4 separate regions of the Homo sapiens genome follow, and all the other regions are linked to region 2. Evidence: promoter capture Hi-C in human tissues and cell types (Jung and others, 2019). All regions are on one chromosome and are shown on one strand. The core of a region is centred on a gene start or on the middle of the fragment in contact, and the rest is flanking DNA. Distances in the headings are between cores, read along the strand shown. Region 1 overlaps ZNF17 (zinc finger protein 17). Region 2 holds the start of ZNF134 (zinc finger protein 134). Region 3 overlaps ZNF547 (zinc finger protein 547). Region 4 overlaps ZNF772 (zinc finger protein 772).

Evidence for each region. Contacts are between HindIII fragments. The study calls those that stand out against the background at their distance.
Region 1: a fragment that was not itself captured here is called in contact with the fragment with the promoter of ZNF134 in region 2 in 1 of the 25 tissues and cell types used here (bladder).
Region 3: a fragment that was not itself captured here is called in contact with the fragment with the promoter of ZNF134 in region 2 in 2 of the 25 tissues and cell types used here (dorsolateral prefrontal cortex and hippocampus).
Region 4: a fragment that was not itself captured here is called in contact with the fragment with the promoter of ZNF134 in region 2 in 1 of the 25 tissues and cell types used here (neural progenitor cells).

Annotation. Positions count from the first base shown.
Region 1 is chr19:57,419,390-57,422,895 of GRCh38, forward strand. It overlaps ZNF17 (zinc finger protein 17), which reads left to right. Exons shown (of 4, transcript NM_001330617.2): 4 at 246-2,545. The coding sequence ends at 2,092. Among named protein-coding and RNA genes, the nearest start is that of ZNF17, 10 kb to the left of the region's middle. The HindIII fragment of the contact is 3,428 bases long and covers 1-3,060 here.
Region 2 is chr19:57,612,335-57,615,573 of GRCh38, forward strand. ZNF134 (zinc finger protein 134) reads left to right here and starts at 1,908. Exons shown (of 3, transcript NM_003435.5): 1 at 1,908-2,169. It also overlaps a transcript of ZNF530 not described here. RefSeq lists an enhancer at 1,803-1,982 and a silencer at 2,113-2,162. The HindIII fragment of the contact is 8,655 bases long and covers 1-3,239 here.
Region 3 is chr19:57,368,493-57,371,688 of GRCh38, forward strand. It overlaps ZNF547 (zinc finger protein 547), which reads left to right. Exons shown (of 4, transcript NM_173631.4): 2 at 52-87. The coding sequence starts at 64. Among named protein-coding and RNA genes, the nearest start is that of ZNF547, 6.5 kb to the left of the region's middle. The HindIII fragment of the contact is 8,803 bases long and covers 1-3,196 here.
Region 4 is chr19:57,468,427-57,472,040 of GRCh38, forward strand. ZNF772 (zinc finger protein 772) reads right to left here. Exons shown (of 4, transcript NM_001144068.2): 4 at 1,160-3,614. Among named protein-coding and RNA genes, the nearest start is that of ZNF772, 7.3 kb to the right of the region's middle. The HindIII fragment of the contact is 7,443 bases long and covers 1-3,614 here.

The DNA of each region.
Region 1 (3,506 bases), core at 97-2,596, 190 kb before region 2:
GGACTCCACTTCTGTGCTCTGCACTGTACCACTCCCTATGTTGTTCCCCATCATCAGGACTCTTTCGTTATGGGTTTCTGTCAGTCCCGGTTCTGCCCAGTAGGCTTTCCTCTCACTGGCTTTAATGTCCCATGCCTGTCACCAATCCCATGGTCTTATTTGTGAGTTGGTCTGACAGACATTTGTTATGGGGCTGCCTCTTCCCTCCAAAGTCATCATGCACTTCATGAGCATTTCTGTTTTAGGTTGTTGGCATGGAGCCAAGGATGAGGAGGCACCTTCCAAGCAATGTGTTTCTGTAGGAGTGTCACAGGTCACAACTTTAAAGCCAGCTTTGTCCACCCAGAAGGCCCAGCCCTGTGAGACATGTAGCTCACTTCTGAAGGACATTCTACACCTGGCTGAGCATGACGGAACACACCCCAAGCGTACAGCCAAGCTTTACCTGCACCAAAAGGAGCATCTTAGAGAGAAGCTCACCAGAAGTGATGAAGGGAGGCCTTCGTTTGTGAATGACAGTGTTCACCTGGCAAAGAGGAACCTCACATGCATGCAGGGTGGCAAGGATTTTACTGGTGATTCAGATCTTCAACAACAGGCTCTTCACAGTGGGTGGAAGCCACACAGGGACACTCATGGTGTGGAGGCCTTTCAAAGTGGACAGAATAATTACAGCTGCACCCAATGTGGGAAAGACTTTTGCCACCAACATACACTGTTTGAGCACCAGAAAATCCACACAGAGGAAAGGCCTTATGAGTGCAGTGAATGTGGCAAATTGTTTAGGTACAACTCCGACCTTATTAAACATCAGCGAAATCATACTGGAGAAAGGCCTTATAAGTGTAGTGAATGTGGAAAAGCCTTCAGCCTCAAATACAATGTTGTTCAACACCAGAAAATTCACACTGGAGAAAGGCCTTATGAGTGCAGTGAATGTGGGAAAGCTTTTCTTAGAAAGTCTCACCTACTTCAGCACCAGAGGATTCACACCAGGCCAAGGCCTTATGTGTGTAGTGAATGTGGGAAGGCCTTCCTTACACAGGCTCACCTTGTTGGTCACCAGAAAATTCATACTGGAGAACGGCCTTATGGATGCAATGAATGTGGGAAATACTTTATGTACAGTTCAGCACTCATTAGACATCAGAAAGTTCACACTGGAGAAAGGCCTTTTTATTGCTGTGAATGTGGGAAATTCTTTATGGACAGCTGCACACTCATTATTCACCAGAGAGTTCATACTGGAGAAAAACCTTATGAATGCAACGAATGTGGGAAATTCTTTAGATACCGTTCCACACTCATTAGACATCAGAAAGTTCACACTGGAGAAAAGCCTTATGAGTGTAGTGAATGTGGGAAGTTCTTTATGGACACTTCCACACTCATTATTCATCAGAGAGTTCATACTGGAGAAAAGCCTTATGAATGCAACAAATGTGGGAAATTCTTTAGGTATTGCTTCACACTGAATAGACATCAGAGAGTTCACTCTGGAGAGAGGCCTTATGAATGCAGTGAATGTGGCAAATTCTTTGTGGACAGCTGTACACTGAAGAGTCATCAGAGAGTTCACACTGGAGAAAGACCTTTTGAATGCAGCATTTGTGGGAAATCCTTTAGATGTCGCTCCACACTTGATACACATCAGAGAATTCACACTGGTGAAAGGCCTTATGAGTGTAGTGAATGTGGGAAATTCTTTAGGCACAACTCAAATCATATTAGACATCGGAGAAATCACTTTGGAGAAAGGTCTTTTGAGTGCACTGAGTGTGGGAGAGTTTTTAGCCAAAATTCCCACCTCATTCGGCACCAAAAAGTTCACACTAGGGAAAGAACTTACAAATGCAGCAAATGTGGGAAATTTTTTATGGACAGCTCCACACTCATTAGTCATGAGAGAGTTCATACTGGAGAAAAGCCTTATGAGTGCAGTGAATGTGGGAAAGTCTTTAGATACAACTCCAGCCTCATTAAACATCGGAGAATTCACACTGGAGAGAGACCTTATCAGTGCAGTGAATGTGGAAGAGTCTTTAACCAAAATTCTCATCTCATTCAGCACCAGAAAGTTCACACCAGATAAAGAATGTATATATAAAGCAGATGGGGAAAGACTTCACACAGAAATCTACTCTGATTTAGCACTGGGACCTACGTTTTAAAAAAAGTATTCTTGTAGAATACAGATAACATAAAATCTAACATCTTAACCATGTTAAAGTGTATAGTTCAGTACTGTTAAGTCATTCACATTGTGCAATGAATATCTAGAAGTCTTTTCAACTTATGAAACTAAGTCTATACCTTTTAAAACCTTATTCCTCACTCCATCCAGCCTCTTGACAAGCACCGCTCTGTATGAATTTTACTAGTCCGGGTACCTCATATAAGAAAACTTAAGTTTTGGTCTTCTTGTGGTTTATTTTGTGGCTTATTTTGCTTAACGTTATATTTTTAAGGTTTCATGTTCTAATCCATTAGAATTTCCATCCTTTTTAAAGGCTGAATAAAATTCTGTTAGTCATGTGTTGCTTAACAGTGGGGAAGTGTCCTGAGAAAAGTGTTATTAGGTGATTTTCTTTCTTTTTTTGGTGGTGGGGGGGTTGCGTGAATGCCTAGGCTGTATGGTATATCCTATAGCACCTTGCTACAAACTTGTATAGCATATTACTGTACTGAATACTGTAGGCTGTTGGAACACATGGTAAGTAATTGTTTTTAAGTATATCTAAACAGAAAAGGTACAGTAAAAATACAGTATAAAAGAAAAAATGATAGACTCACAGAGAACTTACCATGAATGAAGCTTACAGTACTGCAAGTTGCTCTAGGTGAGTCAGTGAGTGGTAAGTGAATGTGAAGGCCTAGGTTGTTACTGTGCTGTAGACTTTATAGACATTGTGTACTTAGACGACAATACATTTTTATTTTTATTATTATTTTTGAGACAGAATCTTGCTCTGTTGCCCAGACTAGAGTGCAGTGGTGCAATCTTGGCTTCCTGCAACCTCCTCCACCTCCTGGTTCAAGCAGTTCTGCCTCAGCTTCCCAAGTGTCTGGGATTACAGGCATGCACCACCATGCCCCGCTAATTTTTGTATTTTTAGTAGAGAACGGGGTCTTACCATGTTGGCCAGGCTGGTCTCAAACTCCCGACCTCAAGTGAGCCACTCGCTTTGGCCTCCCAAAGTGCTGGGATTACAGGCATGAGCCACCGTGCCCGGCTGGACAAAATTAAATTTATAGAAATTTTTCTTTAATATATTAACCTTAGCTGACCATTTTTTACTTTATAAGCTTGTATTTTTAAAAACTTTTTGACTTTTGTAATAATGTTTTGCTTAAAACATTGTACAACTGTACAAAAATATTTTTTATATCCTAACTTCTTAAATTTTTTTTGTTAAAAACTAAGATACACACATTTGTCTAGGCCGGCACAGGATCAGGATAATGTCATTTTATTCCACCTTCACAACCTGTTCCAGAAGATCTTC
Region 2 (3,239 bases), core at 658-3,157:
TGTCTCTTGTTTTGTAAATGTCCCATGCAGTTAAGATAGTGTCTGAAATACAGTAGGTGTTCCTTGAATATTTCTTAGAACTATGAATAAGCATAATACTACAGCATCCCTGTTCACCTTAATATTCTGATAGCACTTTCTAAATGTTTTCTTTACTTCTCCTTCCAGGTATTATTGAGTGTTTTCAAGAATGAAAAGAGGCCTGGCATGGTGGCTCACATCTGTAATCCCAACTTTTTGGGAGGCTGAGGTGGGAGGATCCCTTGAGCCCAAGAGTTTGAGGCTGCAGCAAGCTATGATCGTGCCACTACACTCCAGCCTGTGCAACACAGTGAGATCCTGTCTCCAAAATTAAATAAATAAATAAAATTACATTTTGGAGACTAAACGCTGCTTGTAGTCATAGTTCTAACACAGCTGTGTGCTCAGCTTCATTTGCTCACTTCTCAGAATTCAATGTCTCCTGCTCAAATTTTGCTGTCATCTTAACCGTTTTCACTTATCACAGATATGTTTCTCCAGGTCCATTTCGTCATGTATCTGTGAATAACTACAGAATTATTAACTTTGAGTAATTTGGCCGGGCGCGGGGGCTCTCCTGTAATCCCAGCACTTTGGGAGGCTGAGGCGGGCAGATCACGAGGTCAGGAGATCGAGACCATCCTGGCTAACACGGTGAAACCCCATCTCTACTAAAAATACAAAAAGTTAGCCGGGCATGGTGGCAGGCGCCTGTAATCCCAGCTACTCCGGAGGCTGAGGCAGGAGAATAGTGTGAACCTGGGAGGCGGAGCCTGCAGTGAGCTATGGTCGCACCACTGCACTCCAGCCTGGGCGACTGAGCAAGACTCCGTCTCAAAAAAAAAAAACACAAAACAACTTTTGAGTAATTTAAACAATTCACAAATGTTTTTGTCTTTCTTTCCCCATACACTCGCCCTTTTCTTTTTTAAAACCATAAATAAATCTCAATTCTCAATTCAGACACTGTCGGTGTAATTGCAGGTGAAATGAGAATCACCTCCCAGCCAAGAAATCTGATCCCAATTTTCCAAATCTTTATTTCTGGGTTCAGACACCACATTTTCAGCCCCTGTCTTGGCATATAAAAGCATTTATAATGGTTCTTCTTTTCAGATAAGAAACATCACCAAAAGGAAATAGATATATCTCAACTTTTGGGCTAGGAACTCTCATTTGGATAAAAGAATATTTCTCCTTTGGTTGGACATTAGTGACCATACAGGCAGGAAAGGTGCCTTCCTTGACCACCTTCTCTCGCCTGTCTTCCTCCTCATGGTTCTCTCAGGTATTTTTTTTCTGAGGAAACCAGAGGAAGAGCTCTATATTAGTCCACTTGCCTCAGGGAGCTCCAGCATCCCTCCATAGCCACTGTCTGGAGACCATTCTTCCACTCCATGGCCCTGCCTGGGGACAATTCTCTGTTAACTCTGACCCAACTGAGGCTCACAAAACTGACTCAAAGCTTCCCTCTACAGTACACATATTTTTTAAATGAAGGAAATTTGACTGAACTATGAGTGGACTCAGAGTGACATTGGATGTTGTGTGTCCATTTGGTGGTGTGGCTTCAGGGAACATCTGTAAGAATATATCCCAATATTTCGGGGATCCCTGCAGACCTCACTACACAAGACCTGGTTGAGGGTCCTTTAAAAGGAGCGAAGCCACGCCCTGACCTCAGAGTCTCAGGGCATAATTTCTCAGCGCCCCTCGCAGTACCATTTGGCCTTTGCCCAGCGTGCAGGGGAGTTAGCCGTCACCACGGCCAAGTGCACATGAGAACTGCATTGCCCAGAAACCTGTGCGCCGCCCGGCGGCGGCACTCTTAGGGGCGTCTCCCTGCGGACGGAAGCTCTCTGGGCGGGACTTCCGGTATCTTCCTCGCGGTGGACATCTTGTCGGCTCTTAGGTGGAACCATCGGAGCAGAAGCTCGGGGTTGCTGGGCGGTTCCGAGGTGACGGAAGCGGGAGGGTGCGGGAGAAGTCGCTGTTCGCTCTGCGGAGTGGCTCGCCAGCGAAGACCCCGCCTGCGCCCCCGGGGACGGACGACCGCGGTGCCAGGGTCCCGCGACCTGGGACCCCCTCGCGGCTCCGGGTGGTCTACGAACTGTGATGGCGGCGGCCGCGGTGATGGGCCCGGCGCAGGTGGGTGCTGCCTTTCCCAGACTTTCGCCCGCCCCAAATCCTGAAGTTCCAAATGAGGAGCGCCTGTCTGAGTCCCTGCAGCGCAGGCCCCAGTGTCCAAGGCAGCGGGGCGCTGGTGGGTGGGGGCGAGTGTGACTGGCAGAGGGGCAGCCTGAGCATAGGTTTGGAGCTGGACTGAGCCCGTAGCAGTCGGGAGCGTGTGTGAACCGTAGTCAGGCCTGCAATGTCGAGGGGAGAAGTTGCTCCTTCATTGCGAGGACGATAGGAGCCATGGCGGGTTTTGAATGGTGGAGGGAAGGGATCCGAAAAAGGATTTTTAAAGTATTCCAATGTTTGCTGAGGAGGAAACCGACTACAGTGAGGTAGAAACGATGAGGATGGAGGCAAGGAGACGTTTGAGGAGGTCCCTGCAACAAACTCCAGAAGTGTTGCGGTGGTGGCTGGGCCAGAGCAGTGGCAGGAGGGGTTGGGTGGGGAAGTCATGAGATTCTGGGTAGATTTTTAAAGATGGAACCAATGGGGTTTCCTGCCGCATCAGATGTGGTCGTGAGTGAATGTAGGGAGGAAAGGGCTATCCAGGGTTTTTTTGGCCTGTTTTCCTTCCTGAACGTGTGAAAGAATGGAAATTGGTAAGTCACAGCAGGGAGCACGTTTCAGGGGCATCAGGAATTGGGTTTTGGACTTGGTGAATCTAAGGTGTTCTGCACTGGAGGTTCATCACGGGTAGCTGAACATGCAGGTCTGGGGTTCTAGAGAGGGAGTTGTGCTAGAGACTTCAATGGGTGAGGCATAAGGTCAAAGCCTGTAGTAGATCAGATTTAGAGGGTGGAATTTCAAGGAAGTTATTTTGTGTGGTCTCTGAAGTGAGAGGTGGGTTTAGGGTGGAAGGCCAGGGATGAAGGGGTGGACACTTAAGATTCCTTCCAGAAAGGAGGGGTCCTGGCATGTGAAAGCATTCTAGATGGTGTTGTTGGAAGTCAATGCTTGGTGCTGCAAAGTGAAACCAGCACTCAGGCAAAAGTTTTCTCAGCAAGGCAATTTACTTCTGTGCAAGTGTGCTGCCTGTGTTA
Region 3 (3,196 bases), core at 1-2,500, 240 kb before region 2:
GTAAGATCTTCCCATCGTTGCCCATTTCTCACGGTTTCCCTCTTCCTTCAGGGTCCCCTGGCGATGGCAGAAATGAACCCTGCACAGGTGAGTGGAGTGTTTTCTACCTTTCACCTACCAGTTATCTCATAGATGGTTTTGGCACCTCCATGTAAAGAAAAGTGGTGTCCAGAGACTCTCTTTCTGTCTTTCTCCCTCTCTTATGTCTGAAAAGTGAGTGATTCCACCAGTTCTAGTATCTTAAATTAGGTCTGGGATTTTTGTTTGATTGTTTTAAGTTTACTGTGACACCTTACCTGGATGGCCCTGGATTATGTGGAGTGGCTCCCATTTTTGACAGTTGACGTGGTAACATCTGTCAGAGTGTCATGGGCACAAGATTAAGAATGTTTCAGTGTTTAGAGGAGAGACTGAACTGGATTTTTAGGGAACTGCAAGTGTCTGTTATATCGGATAGGAATAGGGAGCAGAGTGGGAGGTGGCTAGAGACACACAAACATCAGGCCTGGAATGACAGCCTAGGTCCTGGGTCTCTAATCTAAGGGAGGTGGTAGATGGGGAAGATTTGAAGCAGAAGAGGGCAGTGATAGGACCCTAGCTTAAGGAACTTTCTTTGGCGTCTGAGTGGAGGACAGACTGTGGAGGTGAGGGTAATGGCAGGGAGATCTGAGAGGATGTTCCTGCAGCAGTCTAGGTGGATGTTGGTGGTGACTTGTCAAGAGTAGCGGTGGCTTCAGGATGTGTTTTGAACTGGAGCTGCCCACATTTTATGATGTAGAGAGTGAGGCAGCTGGGGGGGTGGGATAGAAGGGGAATCAGGAGTGGCCCCATGGTTTTTGTTTGGAAGCATAGATGCTCCATCAGCTAAGATGGGAGAAGTCAGCAGTATTAGGAATTTTCAGAGTGAGTGTGAGGAGTCAGTGTTTGTTCAAGCCACAGATGTCTCAGAGACTCCTGGTGGAGGAGTTCAGGTTGGAGACGTCCACACTATGGTGGCTGTCGTATGGACCAGGATGAAGCCATGGATTCAGTTTAGGTGACAGCATCTCTAGGTTATGGTGGCAGTGCTGTTCGAAGACAGAGAATTGGAATGGGGCATGAGAACTGGGTCTCTTACTGGGTAGCTGTGCAGTGGTGGAGGAGTCACTAGACAAATGAGGGAATGGAGTGTTTGTGGGGATGAGTGTATGTGAGATGGTGGGGTATAGGAGTGAGAAAGACTTCTGAAGGAGAGTGGACATGATGGGGTTGCTGAGGAGGGTAATAGGGTGAGGTCGGAGAGTTGCTAAGCATCAGTTGGAATGAGATGAGGATGGGAATTCTATTAGTCTGTTTTCATATTGCTACAAAGAACTACCTGAGACTGGGTACTTTATGAAGAAAAGAAGTTTAATTGACTCACAGTTCTTTTTTTTTTTTTTTTTTTTTTTTGAGATGTGGCCCAGGCTGGAGTGCAGTGGCACAATCTCGGCTCACTGCAATCTCTCCCTGCCAGGTTCAAGCGATTCTTCTGCCTCAGCCTCCTGAATAGCTGGGACGACAGACTCACCCCACTACGCCCAGCTAATTTTTGTATTTTTAGTAGAGATGGGCTTTCACCATGTTGGCCAGGATGGTCTTGATCTCCTGACCTCGTGATCCATCCTCCTCAGCCTCCCAAAGTGTTGGGATTACAGGCGTGAGCCACCGCACCCAGCCCATAGTTCTTCAGGCTTAACAGGAAGCATAACTCGGAGGCCTCAGGAAACTTACAATCCTGTGTCCATGAGGCAGGACACAGCTGAGAGTATGTGAAGTCCTCACATGGTTTGGGCACCTGACAGTGAAGTGAGAAACAGGGCCATGTAGGGAACCTTCAACCCAGGGCTTAGGGCTGCCCCCGGTGCTAGGGAACTTTGGTGTTCTGGGGCAGGACTGGGAGTGAATTGGATGCTGAGCGTATTTGCCGTGCACCACCTGGTTTCTGTGTGCAGAGTGGCCTGTTAGGAGGTGAAGGAAATGCCTGTGGTGTGGGCTGGGAGGTGTCTGTGGAATTGACTGGAGTGGAGGTGTGAGAGATGGGATTGGAGTGCTGTCCAAAGAGTGATGTGCAGGCAGGAGGAGTGTGAATGGAGGGCCTCAGGCCCTGGCCCTGGTAGCTCAAGGGAGGAGGATGAGTCTGAGTTTGGTTGTCTTGGGAGGCAAGATCTGGGTGACTCCATGGAAACTGGCTGGCAGGAGAGGATGGATCCCCCCACGGGAGGCCCACATTCCTTTTCTACCTTATCTTCCATCTGTTTCCTCTGTGTGCTGGACACGGTGGCCAATGTCAATATGGAGAGAAAAGTCACTCATGCCACCTGGATGTGGTTTCTCTTCCACATTGGGAGGGTGTAGAGATTGAGGAAGGAAAGGAGGTGTAGGGGAGAGGGATGAGTTCCTGGAGAGAGAAAAGTAGCAGTGATTGTACCCATTGGGGTTTTTTGTTTTTTTTTTTTTAGATGGAGTCTTGCTGTGTTGTCACCCAGGCTGGAGTGCAGTGGCATGATCTTGGCTCACTGCAACCTGCACCTCCTGGATTCAAGCAGTTCTGCCTCAATCTCCCAAGTAGCTAGGACTACAGGCATGTGCCGCCATGCCCACCTAATTTTTGTATTTTTAGTAGAGATGGGATTTCACTGTGTTGGCCAGGCTGGTCTTGAACTCCTGACCTCAGGTGATCTGCCCGCCTCAGCCTCCCAAAGTGCTGGGATTATAGGCATGAGCCACTGTGCCTGGCCCCCATGGAGTTTTAATTTATGGATGTGAGTGAGTGATGCCAGGGACAGGCCAATGACACTGAAAGAAGATATTTATTCCTTACGTTTCCCTAAGGAGGTTACATACCACATAACACAGGGCCACACGGTGAAACACCAGATTTGATCAGGAGGAAAATTGGAGTGAGTTTAGTTTAGTCCACAGATGCTGTTGGGGTTTCCAAGGGAAACAAGGCAGGGCTGGCTGTCAGGATAGTTTGGCTAGTTTTAGTAATTCCAGGACACCTGGGCTATTGGGACTGTCCCTAGTTGTGCAGTACCTGTCCCTGGGTTGATTTAGAGCATGGGAAATACTGACTTGGTTTGAGAAAGTTAGAGATGGAGATGGTTAAGAATATGTGCCCAGGATGGTAGGGGAGATGGAAACACATTTAGCTGTTAGTTTGTCCCTGTGTTTA
Region 4 (3,614 bases), core at 408-2,907, 140 kb before region 2:
GGCAGGAGAATTGCTTGAACCCAGGAGGCGGACGTTACAGTGAGCTGAGATCGCGCCACTGCACTCCAGCCTGGCAATAGAGGGAGACTCCGTCTCAAAAAAAAAAAAAATCCTAACAAATCTCACTAGAATATGACTTATTCTTTCTCTCTAAGAGATATATAGATATATGTATTAAATATCTTTAGTAGAGGATTTTTCAGATCTCGAGTGAGCCTGGTCAGTTGGTATCTTTCAATGGATTTTTGTTTTCCAAGTTTCAACTTACTGAGAAAGGGTTGTTTAAAACAATCACACATTATCCATTATATGTTTCAAAGTTATCTAGTACTATACTATGTTTCATTGCTCCTATCTGTAATATGTGATTTACGTTCTTTCTGATTAAAAAAAGGAGACACCTTGAATAAATTATTAAAATTGATAGACCTTCCACTATATCAGAAAGAAAAAACATGGGTTCATAGATTTTCTCAAAAAAGAAAAAACTAAATAAGGTTACTGTGAAAATTAATTCTGAGGCCCTAGTACAAAGATGGAGAGCTCAGAGCCCAAAAGTCATCCTGTGTTAAGGAGACATAGCTAAGAGTCTCGGTTTGCCAAGGTAGCTGGAGTCTACAGAGCAGAGTACAGGAGAGAAAAAACTTCAGAGATATAGAGGGCCATCCCCAAGTATTCAGCTGAGTATAATCTGTGTTTGCATATAGAAAAAGACCAGAGGATGGGTAAAGAACCACCTGAAAGGATTATACGGGAAGCAATTCCCAAGGCTTATACAGAAAACATGATAGTTCTCATTTCAACCAGCTTGAGTAAAAAAAACTCATAACTCATGAAGCATTAGGTAGAGAATATAGGAAGGTTGTGTCTCAGTAATGGGAGGGGAATTTGTCTTAAAATGTATGCTGCAATAATCTCATCGAGAAATGTTTAGAATCAAGACTCCCCAAAAGATCATATTGTTTCCAAGTAACTTAACCATGTAACAGAAAAAAGAAATCAAGAATATCTATAGAAAATTAAAAAAAAATCAGTACCTAAAATTCAGTGTCCATTCAAAATTAAACCATGTTAACAGTATCAGACAAGGGAGATTTTAGAGAAAGAATATTACCAGAGATTAACAGGATCATAATGATAAAGTGGTCAACACATCAAGTGGACATAAAATAGGAAATATTTATTATTCACCTAATAAAAACATACTAAAATATGTGAAGCAAAATCTGACAGAACTGCAGAGAAGTAAATCCAATTTAATATTCAGAGATGTCAACAATCCTCTTAAAATAATTGCTGGAACCAAAACCACAGAATGTCAATAAAGATAGAAAAAACTTAAATAACATCAACCATTTTTACCTAATCAACACTTGTAGAACCCCTTCATCAAACGAGAGTACAGTATACATTTCAAGTGAACATGTAACTCATACCAAGATAGCCCATATTCTGGGCCACAAAGCAAATCTCAATAAATGTAAATAATTCAAGTCTTAATGTACTCTGACCACAATGGAATTATTGCAGAAACTACCAGAAAGATAAGCAAAATCCCCAAATATTTAGGAATTAAATAACATACATTTAAAAAGAGCCATGTGTCAAGAAGAATTTTTTTAACTGGAAAACATCCTAAACTCAACTAAAATGAAACCACATCGGCTGGGCTCACGCCTGTAATCCCAGCACTTTGGGAGGCTGAGGCAGGCGGATCACAAGATCAGGAGATCGAGACCATCCTGGCTAACACGGTGAAACCTCGTCTCTACTAAAAATACAAAAAATTAGCCAGGCATGGTGGCAGGCGCCTGTAGTCCAAGCTACTCGGGAGGCTGAGGCAGGAGAATGGTGTGAACCCAGGAGGCAGAGCTTGCAGTGAGCCGAGATCGCGCCACTGCACTCCAACCTGGATGACAGAGCAAGACACTGTCTCAAAAAAAAAAATGAAACCACATCAAGCTTGATGGGAGGTAATTAAAGCAGTTCTCAGATAGATTTTTAACATTAACATCTCTTCCCCATATTAGGGGAAAAAAACCCAAAGGTTTGAAATGAAGGACCTCAGCTTCCATGTTAAAAAGTAGCAAAAGAAATGAAATCCAATAAAAGCGGAAGGCATTAGTAAAACTCAAAATGGAAAAGAAAAATCCCAAAATATCAGAAAACAGAAAATTCAATAATACCAAGTACTTTAAGATCAATAAAATTGTAAAATTGATAAATCTCTACCCAAACCAATCAAGGTTAAAAGAAAAATATAGACATTACCAGTATCAGGAATAGAAGAGGTTGCACCACTACAAATTCTACAAGTATGAAAATAATATTTTGAAAAATTTGAGTACTTAAATAAAACAGAAAAACTCCTTGAAAGACACAAACCATCAAAGCTCACTCTAGAGATAGATGGATGGATGGAGTGACAAACAGATGGACGGACAGACAGATGTATATATAACTAGTATAGCCCTCCATCTACCATGGAAATCAAACTTGTAGTTAGATGCTGTCCTACAAAACACACTTCAGGGCCAGAGTGACAGACAGACAACACACACACAGACAGATGTACATATAACTTGTACAGCCCTCTATCTACCACAGAAATCAAACTTATAGTTAGAAACTTTCCTACAAAACAAACTCCAGGCCCAGACAGCTTCCTTGGTGAATTCTACCAAACATTTAAGGAAGAAATAATACCAATTATTCACAAACTCTTCCAGAGAGCTGAAGAGCAGGAATACTTCCCAACTTACTCTATAAAGCTGGCATTATGCTGATACCAAAGCCAAACCTGGGCAAGATATAAAATTACAAAGAAAAAAAAGCAAGCAAGCAAGAAAGAAAGTTAGGGACAAATATCACTCGTGAACATTGGTGCAAAACTTGTTACAAAAAAACAAAACAAAACAAAACAAAATAGCAAATCAAATTCAACAATATACTAAATGACTAATACATCATGACCAAATGGGAATTATTACAGAAATGCAAGGTTGGCTTAACATTTAAAAAAATCAGTCAATGTAATTCATATTAAACAACTAAAACAGAAAAAGAAAAAAACCATATAGGATTATGGTCACCAGAGTCCAAGAAAACGCCCCACAAATCCCTATTTTCACCTTTGTGTAGTTCTCTTCCACTTTTAACCAGGATTAGCTAGGGTTACTTATGAAATATAGCAGAAATGACGGCTCATCACTTTCAGTTTAAGGTAATGACAGATACTGTGGCTTTGTTCTTGTGTGAGTTCTCTCCTGGATCACTTGCTTTGAAACTATTTCTCTACAATGGAACACTCTTAGCAAAGTACAAATGAAAAGAAATGAACTATGAAACACAGAACACCACCATGAGCCTTAATTTCAGAGTTTAAGAAGCCAAAAACATTAGAATACATATTAAATTACTCTATCTCTGTAGAATTCTAGGAAATACAAACAAATCTACAGTGACAACGGATCAATAGTTGCCTGGGGATGGGTGAAGGAAAGGGAGAAAATATAAAAGGAATCAGGAAACTTTTGGTTTGAGAAGTGCCAACATGTATCAAAACTTATCAAATGGTACACTATAAATATGTGCAGTTTATTGCAAAAATGTTT